Regions from separate parts of the Homo sapiens genome. Here region 1 is linked to region 2. The links are contacts of gene promoters, found by promoter capture Hi-C in blood cells and fetal thymus (Javierre and others, 2016). All regions are on one chromosome and are shown on one strand. Each heading gives the region's core, a stretch centred on a gene start or on the middle of the fragment in contact. The rest is flanking DNA. Distances are from core to core; before and after follow the strand shown.

Evidence for each region. Contacts are between HindIII fragments. The CHiCAGO score rates a contact against its expected background, and 5 or more counts as called.
Region 1: a contact is called between a fragment that was not itself captured here and the fragment with the promoter of PLK1 in region 2, in 5 of 17 cell types (M1 macrophages, megakaryocytes, total CD8 T cells and 2 more). The highest score is 7.0, in M1 macrophages.

Annotation. Positions count from the first base shown.
Region 1 is chr16:24,034,334-24,038,998 of GRCh38, reverse strand. PRKCB (protein kinase C beta) reads right to left here. Exons shown (of 17, transcript NM_002738.7): 5 at 3,452-3,580. Among named protein-coding and RNA genes, the nearest start is that of MIR1273H, 170 kb to the left of the region's middle. The HindIII fragment of the contact is 181 bases long and covers 3,063-3,243 here.
Region 2 is chr16:23,676,885-23,681,348 of GRCh38, reverse strand. PLK1 (polo like kinase 1) reads right to left here and starts at 2,460. Exons shown (of 10, transcript NM_005030.6): 1 at 2,009-2,460; 2 at 1,097-1,265; 3 at 291-435. The coding sequence starts at 2,416. It overlaps DCTN5 (dynactin subunit 5), which reads right to left. Exons shown (of 6, transcript NM_032486.4): 6 at 3,877-4,464. The HindIII fragment of the contact is 1,938 bases long and covers 857-2,794 here.

The DNA of each region.
Region 1 (4,665 bases), core at 1,904-4,403, 360 kb before region 2:
AATTACCACCCAAAGGTCCCATAGCTCCAAATACCACCACACTGGGGGTGAGGCTTTAAGATACAAATCTGGGGGAGACACAAGTCATCCCACAGCACTGACTGACCTGGAACACGACAGAACAGCCCCCTTGCCTCAAGATGGGACTGACTGTGCTACAGTGTTTGGTACAAAATTCCACCAGATACCAGGCTGAAGAAGACTTCCACGGAGACCACACTCTCGCCAAGCTTTTTCCCTGCCTGAGGAAGGAAGCATGGTTCCTTCACTTCTCTTTTCCCATGAGCAGCCCAATAAATCACTGGAACAAAATCCCCATCTTGGCTCTATTTTTAGAGAACTCGGCCACAGCATCAGGGCTCTCTTCTATCATCCATCAATCAACAAGCCCATGCTGAGTACAGGCTGTGCCCAGCATGGTGTATGGGCAATTGCAGGGCATTGTGACATGGGGCCAGAGGCCCAGGTGCTCACCCCTGCTCAGCATGTGACATTGGTCAGGGTGTTCAGCCTTGCTGAGACTTCGTTTTCCCTTCCATGATGGCAACAACGTGCCCTTTCCCGAATGGTGTGATATCAAAGTATTTGGAAAAGCACAAAGTGCTATTAAACTTCTTTATACATTTGCCTGCTCTGAACATCCCAAAGAAATGAAATCCTACAATATGCCAGGGTCTCACTATGTTGGCCAGGCTGGTCTTGAACGCCTAGTCTCAAGCAATCCTCCTGTCTTAGCCTCCCAAAGTGCTGGGATTACAGGTGTGAGCCACCACACCTGGCCTTTTTTGTTTGTTTGTTTTTCTTGTTTTTGTTTTATGAGACGGAGTCTTGCTCTGTCACCCAGGCTGGAGTGCAGTGGTGCAATCTCAGCTCACTGCAACCTCCACCTCCCAGGCTCAAGTGATCCTCCTGCCTCAGCCTCCCAAGTAGCTGGGATTACAGTCGTGCACCACCACACTTGGCTAATTTTTTGTATTTTTAGTAGAGATGATGTTTCGACATGTTGCCCAGGCTGACTCCTGAGTTCAAGTGATCCACCCACCTCGGTCTTCCAAAGCGCTGGGATTATAGGCATGAGCCACTGTGCCTGGCCTATTGTTTTTTTCTTTTTCTTTTCGTTTCTTTTTTTTTTTTTTTAAACGTCTTGTCTTAAGCCACCCAGTTTGTGGTATTTTGTTATGGCAGCCACAGCAAATGGATACACCTCCTATCAGTGTGTCCTGAGAAGCGGGGGCTTGTGATCCAGGTTCTCAAAGTTCACAGCATATCTATGATTAAGGGGGAAGACTTTGACCTTGAACTTGAAGAAATATTGTACTGTACCACATCAGAACAAAGACTCCCTAAGGAATGCCCATAGGAGGTGCCCTAGCCAAACCACAAAAGGAATAAATACGGTGGAGGGCATAGAGAAACGAAACGAAACTAAACTAAACAAAAAAGTAACCTACTATATAGTACTTTTGAGTCAAACAGACCTAGGTGAGGAAATGTGTTTTCTGATGGGTAGAATGATAACTTAACTCATTTGAGTTGTTGAAACAATGTAAATCAGATACTGCCTGTAAGTGCTTTTCACAATGATTAACACATTTTAAAAACTAAACACATCTTAGCTATTGTTTTATTATTATTGCAAATGGTGTGAGCTCTTGGAATATAACTTCTCTGAGCCGTGGCTTCTTTGTTCATAAAACAAGAATAATAGAAGGTTGGGCGCAGTGGCTCACACCTGTAATCCCAGCACTTTGGGAGGCCGAGATGGGCGGATCACTTGAGGTCAGGAGTTCTAGACCAGCCTGGCCAACGTGGTGAAACCCTGTCTCTACTAAAAATACAAATATTAGCCAGGCGTGGTGGTGGGCGCCTGTAATCCCAGCTACTCAGGAGGCTGAGGCAGGAGAATCGCTTGAACCCGGGAGGTGGAGGTTCCAGTGAGCTAAGATGGCGCCACCACACTCCAGCCTGGGCAACAGATGGAGTCTCCCTCTCAAACAAGAATAATAGAGATTTCACAATGTTGTGAAGGTGGAAAGAGATAACACGTAAGGTTTAGAGCACTGCACATCCCATGCGGCCCATAAATGTTGGCTGCCCGCAGTCATGCTTTGGAACGAGTGTATTTCCCACAGAATGACACCAGAGGGAAGCAGAGTCTCATATTTGTCTCACCAGCATCGGGAACCTCAATCAGTGGGGAAAACTGGCTTCCCTTGAACCTGAAACTGCGGGATTTCCCCTGGGGCCCCCAAGCATCACACTGGGAGGCAGGCGACCACTTGGAGGAAAACATAATGCAATGGATTGCACATTTTCTAAAATCTCACTGGGCTTCACGAAATCTCAAGTTTAAAAGAATTATATTGTACAGGGATAAGTATTTTTCAGCTTTTACACAATCTACGTAAAGCCCCTCCGCAACCCAGGGCTCAATGCATCAGAGCTACTGAACCAGTCTGAGGCCTCAGAAACACTAATTTTTGCAAAATTAATCTCTTCCATGATCAATTTCCTGAGTTACCAACTCATAAACCCTTATTTATATTCATTAGATATATAAAGTCCACAGTAGTTTGTCACTAGCCTTTGAGAAGAAATTCCTGCAAAGTTTTAGCTCCACTCCCAGCCAGCTCAGTGCTGGTTATACCGGGGCTTATGGCTGAGTATTCCTCAAGCCAGTGCTGCTGAGTTCCAATTTTGCTTGAACTTCCCATATCAGAGCCAGGTATGTCTTGAATGCTGGGATACATGAGTGACAGCCCCACCACCACCACCACCACCACCACCAGCAGCTCCTCCTCTCACTGCATCTCCCAGGAGACTGTACCATCCTGCTTTCTAATTATCATGAAATATTTTAGACATGCAGAAAATATAGAGAATAATAAAATTACAGCATAGCCACCATCAGGTTCAAGAAAGAAATATTTCAAATATGTGGAAAGCCCCTGAATTGCACCCTCCAACCCTCCTCCTTCCCAAGATATTATATTCTCCAAATCTGGGGTTTATCATCAAGACTCCATTTTTCCTGCTGGAAAAGTTTGCGGAAGAAGCAAGCTTCCCTTCTCTGCTATCTGAGTAAAGGAAATGCAACTACCCATCCCAAAAGATTACTAAAAAAGAGTGGGAAATGAGAAGGAGAGAAGGGAAGTGGAGGATCCTGAGGAAGTTAGAAGTCCAAGGAACTCAGACGTCTCCTCTCTGAACCCAAGTCAGCCTGGGGTGCTGATGGACGAAGCTTTGAGGGTGTACAGTTTCTAAAGATCCCCCTGCTGCAGGGAGGGGCTGTCATGGGCAGGGCATGGGGCAGAAGCAGTGCCACACCCCCTCCCCGTCCCTGGACTGCCCCACCCCTCCACTGGACTGCCCCACCCCTCCGCCACCCTCCCCTTCTCAATCACACAGGTCAAGCAAGGTCAGGAGCCAGTGGAGCCCCAGGGCCACCTACCGAGGACAATGAGGACGTCCCTGTCGATGTGGGCCTGGATGTAGATGCGGCCGCGGCGCTCCGTGTGGTCCGTGCCACACAGGCTGGGAACATTCATCACGCAGCGCTTGTGCACATTCATCATGCAGGCTGTGAGGGCAGAGAGAGGGGATGTGGCTTAGGCTGGCCCAGGCTGGGGGCTGCAGACATCTGCCCCACCCAAGACCGCTGAGCCCTTCCTGTTTCCCTCCTTTGAGACAGCTGAGACACACGAGCCTGGCTGAGACCAACTTGCCTGCCAGGATCTCATCAGAAGGGCTTTTCCAACTCTTCCCCCTGAACCCTGATGGGCAAAGGAGGTAGAACTTGTCTGTTCCCCACCCACAGCCAAGGGTGCAGTCTGAAGCAAGCACACCCCACACCCCTTAAGGCTCTGAAGCCAGAGTCACCAACTTCAATGCTCACAGGCTGGCTGGTCACATGAGTGAGGAAAGCTAAGGGGGTGGCAGGGACTTGGCCAAGCCAAGTGGGAAACAGAGCAAAAACATTCCCCATTTCTCAACGTATGCAGGAATCTCGATGTGTACGTGACAGCTCTGATTTTTAAATATTAACAGCTAATAGGTTGGGCTCCCTGGAAAGAGTCTGAGACGGGGAGTTTTGAGCACAAGGTTTTTGGGGAGTGCTCTTGTGGGGAGAAGTTCGTTTGCCACGTGGATGCAATCAAAGCTGATGTTAGGGGGAGCCCAGAGCTGAGATGACCCTTCAGAGTTGTTCCAAACTGAGACAAGAGGGCTGGGCACCACAATCATCTGGTCTCCCTGGAAGAGGCATTATCTTGGGCAATTATGCAGGATGGGGCACTGCTGTGAACCACAGCTAGGGGATGGGGTGGGACCATGAAGAGGGGGTCTGGGCTGGCCATAGTGTCCACCATAATTAATTACAAGGAAAAAGATTTAGAGCCAGGGCAGGGTGGATAAAATGTGCCTATACACTGAATTTGGCCTTCGGCCATCTCTCATGTTATAGGATATCCACTCCCTCTGCGCACTCCTCCGTAGAGTATCTGTGTCTATTTCAATGTGGTGGGTGATTTCTTCTAGGTCTTGAGCAATAATGCCCCACTCCAGGAAGGTGTGCCAGGCACCCAGGATTCTCCAGGGGGACGCTAGTTCCAGTTGGAGAAGCCAGAAGGAGAGGCCAAGTCACCCCATGGGCCCCTATTTCAAGGG
Region 2 (4,464 bases), core at 1,211-3,710:
ATGGTGATGCTGCCCTGTGGACAACTCTAGCAAAGGACTACAGTAAGGTTGTGGAGACTCTCCCTCCTCCTCCTCCGCTGTACCCATGACCTAGGCTGCAGAAATCCGACAGGATACACCAGTGACAGGGAAAGATATGACAATTAGGCTTTGTTTGGGGATGACTTGTCCCTTGGAGTAGGCTTTCTGTAAAGCAGGCCGAAAGGTCCACAGAAAAGGTCAGCCAGGTAGGATGTCCCAAAGTTGCCCCTGCTGAGACCAGGTTGGTCCAGAGACAACTCCCAACTTACATGATACACCCAATGGACCACACATCCACCTCGAAACTGTGCCCTTTCTTGCTCAGCACCTCGGGAGCTATGTAATTAGGAGTCCCACACAGGGTCTTCTTCCTCTCCCCGTCATATTCGACTTTGGTTGCCAGTCCAAAATCCCCTGGGACAGAGGGAGGAAGAGTTGGTACTTAGATGCCAGCCTCTGACATCTGTCAATGCAGAAGGCTAGTTAAGGTTTGACCATCCAGAACCAGGGCCATCTGATCCCACAAGCCTCTGCTCCTTGTATGTAGCAAGGCTTGCCCAGGAATCTTCCTCCCATGCTGACACCAGGGAGGTGCCTCCAGTGACACTTCTCACCCCTCCTTTTAGAAAGGGGCTATGCTTTGAAACAGGAACTGACAGGGATAGTAAAACTCCAATGCCTTCAAGGATCAAGCAAGTTAACCTCCAAGACTTGGCAAGTCTGTGAAGAATAGGGAGGAGTAGAGACTGTGGCAAAGAAGTCTGAAGGGGACAGCTGTTTTCCAGCCCAGCAAAGGGCTGCCCTAAGAAAATGCTGTCCTCGTATTACTGAAGCTTTCACCTGTTTAAAAGGAGTTCTGAATCAAACTTTTTGTTCAATCAAACCTTCCAATTTAAAAAATAAAAACAAATTCAAATTCTTTGTAAAAAAAAAATATTGCATTGGGGCACAAAAAAATAATGCATCTGTAGGCAAGATACTGACTTGTGGGTTGTCTCCTTCCTTTCTCCCAGCCTCCTCCAAATTCCAGCCTCTTGTAGTGATGTCAAGCACCCCTGCAGGCTCAGCAACTCACCTATTTTCACCTCCAGATCTTCATTCAGGAAAAGGTTGCCCAGCTTGAGGTCTCGATGAATAACTCGGTTTCGGTGCAGGTACTGGCAGCCAAGCACAATTTGCCGTAGGTAGTATCGGGCCTCAGGCTCAGTCAGGGCTTTCCTCCTCTTGTGCAGCTCCAGGAGAGACTGTGGGTGGGAAGGAGAGGGCAGGAGGGATGGGGAGGTGGATTGAGGCCGGTGGGGAAGGGAGAGGGTTACCAGGCAAAGGAAGCACAGGACTGGACTCTGGACTCCCAAGGGATGAAAGAGGGGTCTTGGTGGGTTTCTCTCCTTCCCTATGCCCCCACCCCATTCCTTCTCCAGCACAGCGGCATCTGGACCCTGCCTTAACACTGTCCACAACCATTCGCAGCACCCCTTCTCCTACTAGCTTCCCCCCTTACCTGGGGGTCCTCTCTCAGCCCCACTCCGGAAGCTCCGAGTCCCCAGCACCAGATCCCTTTCCTGACTCGTATCTCCCCCGGAAGGCCCGAAGTCTGGCTCCAACTACCCCCCCACTGACCCAGCTCCACCCCAGAAGCTCCCAGGGCGCGGCATCACTAACCTGGGACTCCTCCCTGGGTACTCCAGGGCCCTAGCGTCCATTACCAGCACCCCTCCCCCCAGCACCTCGCGTCCAGAAGCTGACTTCCCTATCAGCAACATGACTCAGACTCCACTTCACTGGAACCCCCTCCTCTAGCAGCTCCCAGAGCCAAGAAGCCCTTACCAAAGACACTTTCCATACGTAAGCGGGAGGCTCCCAGCACCCTTCTCTAGCAGCTCCAAGTCCCAGGCTCTCCCTTGCTGGGTACTCTTTCCAGCAGCTCCAGGTCTGGGCGCTCCAACTGCCCCGCAGGCAGTTCCAGTTCCCCAGCAGCGACACTCACCCTCCGGCGGCAGAGCTCCAACACCACGAACACGAAGTCGTTGTCCTCGAAAAAGCCGTGGAATCCTACGACGTGCTGGTGGGCGAGGCTGCGGTGAATGGATATTTCCATGGACATCTTCTCCCTCTGGTGCGGCTTGAGCAGCAGAGACTTAGGCACAATCTTGCCCGCGAACACCTCCTTGGTGTCCGCGTCCGAGATCTCGAAGCACTTGGCAAAGCCGCCCTTGCCCAAAAAGCGGCCCCGCACATAGCGCCGCCGGCTGCGTGGGTCCACTAGGACCTCCGGGATCTCTTTCGCCGGTGGAGCCGCCGCCGGAGCTCCGGGAGCTGCAACTCCGGGGACCCCGGCTTTCCCAGGGTCGGCCGGTGCCCGTGCCAGCTTCCCTGCAGTCACTGCAGCACTCATGCTCCCGAAGCTGCGCTGCAGACCTCGATCCGAGCAGAGCCTCCGCACCGCTCCGCTCCTCCCCGAATTCAAACGCGGCGCTGGGAACGTTACAAAAGCCTGCGCGCCACTGATTGGCCGCGGGGATTTAAAATCCAAACCCGCCCGCCGCGCGGCACCATGGGAGCGCCCTGCGCAGCAGCAGCCTTTAAACCCGGACCCAGCCGGGGAAAACCTGATTGACACGGACGCCCGAACACGTGGGATAGCCTGGGAAACCAAACCCGGCGTGGATGCGGAGACCCAGCCCCGAGAGAGGAGGAATTCCTTCGGGGTTTCTCCCTTTCTCGGGCGTCCGGGAAAGCTCCTGCGGTTCACTTGCGCCTCCTCCAGGAAGCTTTTACTTAAATCTTCCTCTACCTCGGGGCCAGGGAACAGTAGCATCGCCATCACCTGAGAGCTTGTTAGAACCGCAAAGGCAAACGTTCAGGCCCTACCCCAGACCTCCCGAGTCAGTGTCCGCCTCTCAACAAGACTGCTCAGGTGATTCCTACACATCCTGAAGTTGGAGAAGCACAGTACCAGAGCCCCCCATGATGCAACGAAGCTGTCTGGCCTCCTCGCTACTGAATTTCCCAGGGCCTAAAATAGTGGACACTCAGTTTCTTGGTCAGAGGGAGGGAAGGTTGGAAGAATGCCTAGCAAACTGGCAGGTCATAGCCAAATGTGTCTTGCGGGGTTTTGTTTGGCCTCCCCCCACGCCTTTTTTTTGTGTGTGTGACGGAATCTTGCTCTGTCGCCCAGGCTGGAGTGCAGTGGCACGATCTCAGCTCACTGCAACCTCTGCTTCCCGGGTTCAAGCAATCCTCCCGCCTCGGCCTCCCTAGCAGCTGGAATTACAAGCATGCACCACCATGCCCGGCTAATTTTTGTAATTTTAGTAGAGAAGAGGTTTCACCATGTTGGCCAGGCTGGTCTTGAACTCCTGACCTCAAGTGATCTGCCCCTCGGCCTCCCAAATGCTGGGATTACAGGCGTGAGCCACCGCGCCCCGCCATTGTAAAACATTTACAGCATTTAAAAGAGGAGCTCATAAAAGTTGGGATTTGTGGCCTTTCCTGAAAAAAATCAGCTCTAGCTACTTACTCTGTGCCTACATGCTTTCAGTTTGCCACAGTTTACAGCTACACCCGTTTGTTCTGTAGGTACTTGAGTGGCAACCCTGGAACAGTAAAATACCCACGTTAAAAGCTCTTTCTCTGTGCCTCCTTAGCACCCTCTGATCCTTCATAGAGCCCAGCAAAAATCAACCATACTATAAGCATCCTTCACCTGCCTTGCAGCTAAGCTGAAGGACAATGAGGACAATGATGCCGTCCTTTCTACCCCATGTCCCAAGCTCCCAGAGCAGTGCTTGGTAAAAAAAAAAGGGTACTTACTAAAATGTTGGCTGAATAAAAGGAAGACTTTGAAAAATTAAGTTATTTTGTACCCCTATAGTGTGAATTCTTTTTATTGAAATTTAATACACTTACAGAAAAAAATGTACATATTATAATTGTTCATAGAGCTCAGTGAATTTTCACAAACTGAACAAATCTGTAAACCACACCCAGATTGAGAAAGGGAACATGACAAACACCCTGCAAGTCTCCCTTGTGCCCTGTGCTGGGGGGTGCCAACACCACCACCTCCTAGTCTGATGATGTACTAGGAGATTCACAGACTCAGCCTGTAGTCATACTCATGGCTATGTTTTACTACAGCGAAAGGCTAGGAAGCAAAATCAGCAAAGGAAAAAAGCGCATGGACAAAGTCCAGGGAAACCAGGTGTAAGCCTCCCACAGTCCTCTCCCAGCAGAGTCACATAGGACACAATTCCTCCAGCAATCAGTTGTGACAACCCATGTGCAATGTTGTATACAAGGGAAGCTCATTACAGACTCAGTGTTCAGGGTTCTCATTGGGAGCTGCTCACCTCATCCTCTGCCTAACACATATGAAAATCTGACTCCCAGAAGGAAAGCAGATGTTGGGCATAACCCACATTGTTTGTACGAACAGTTTAG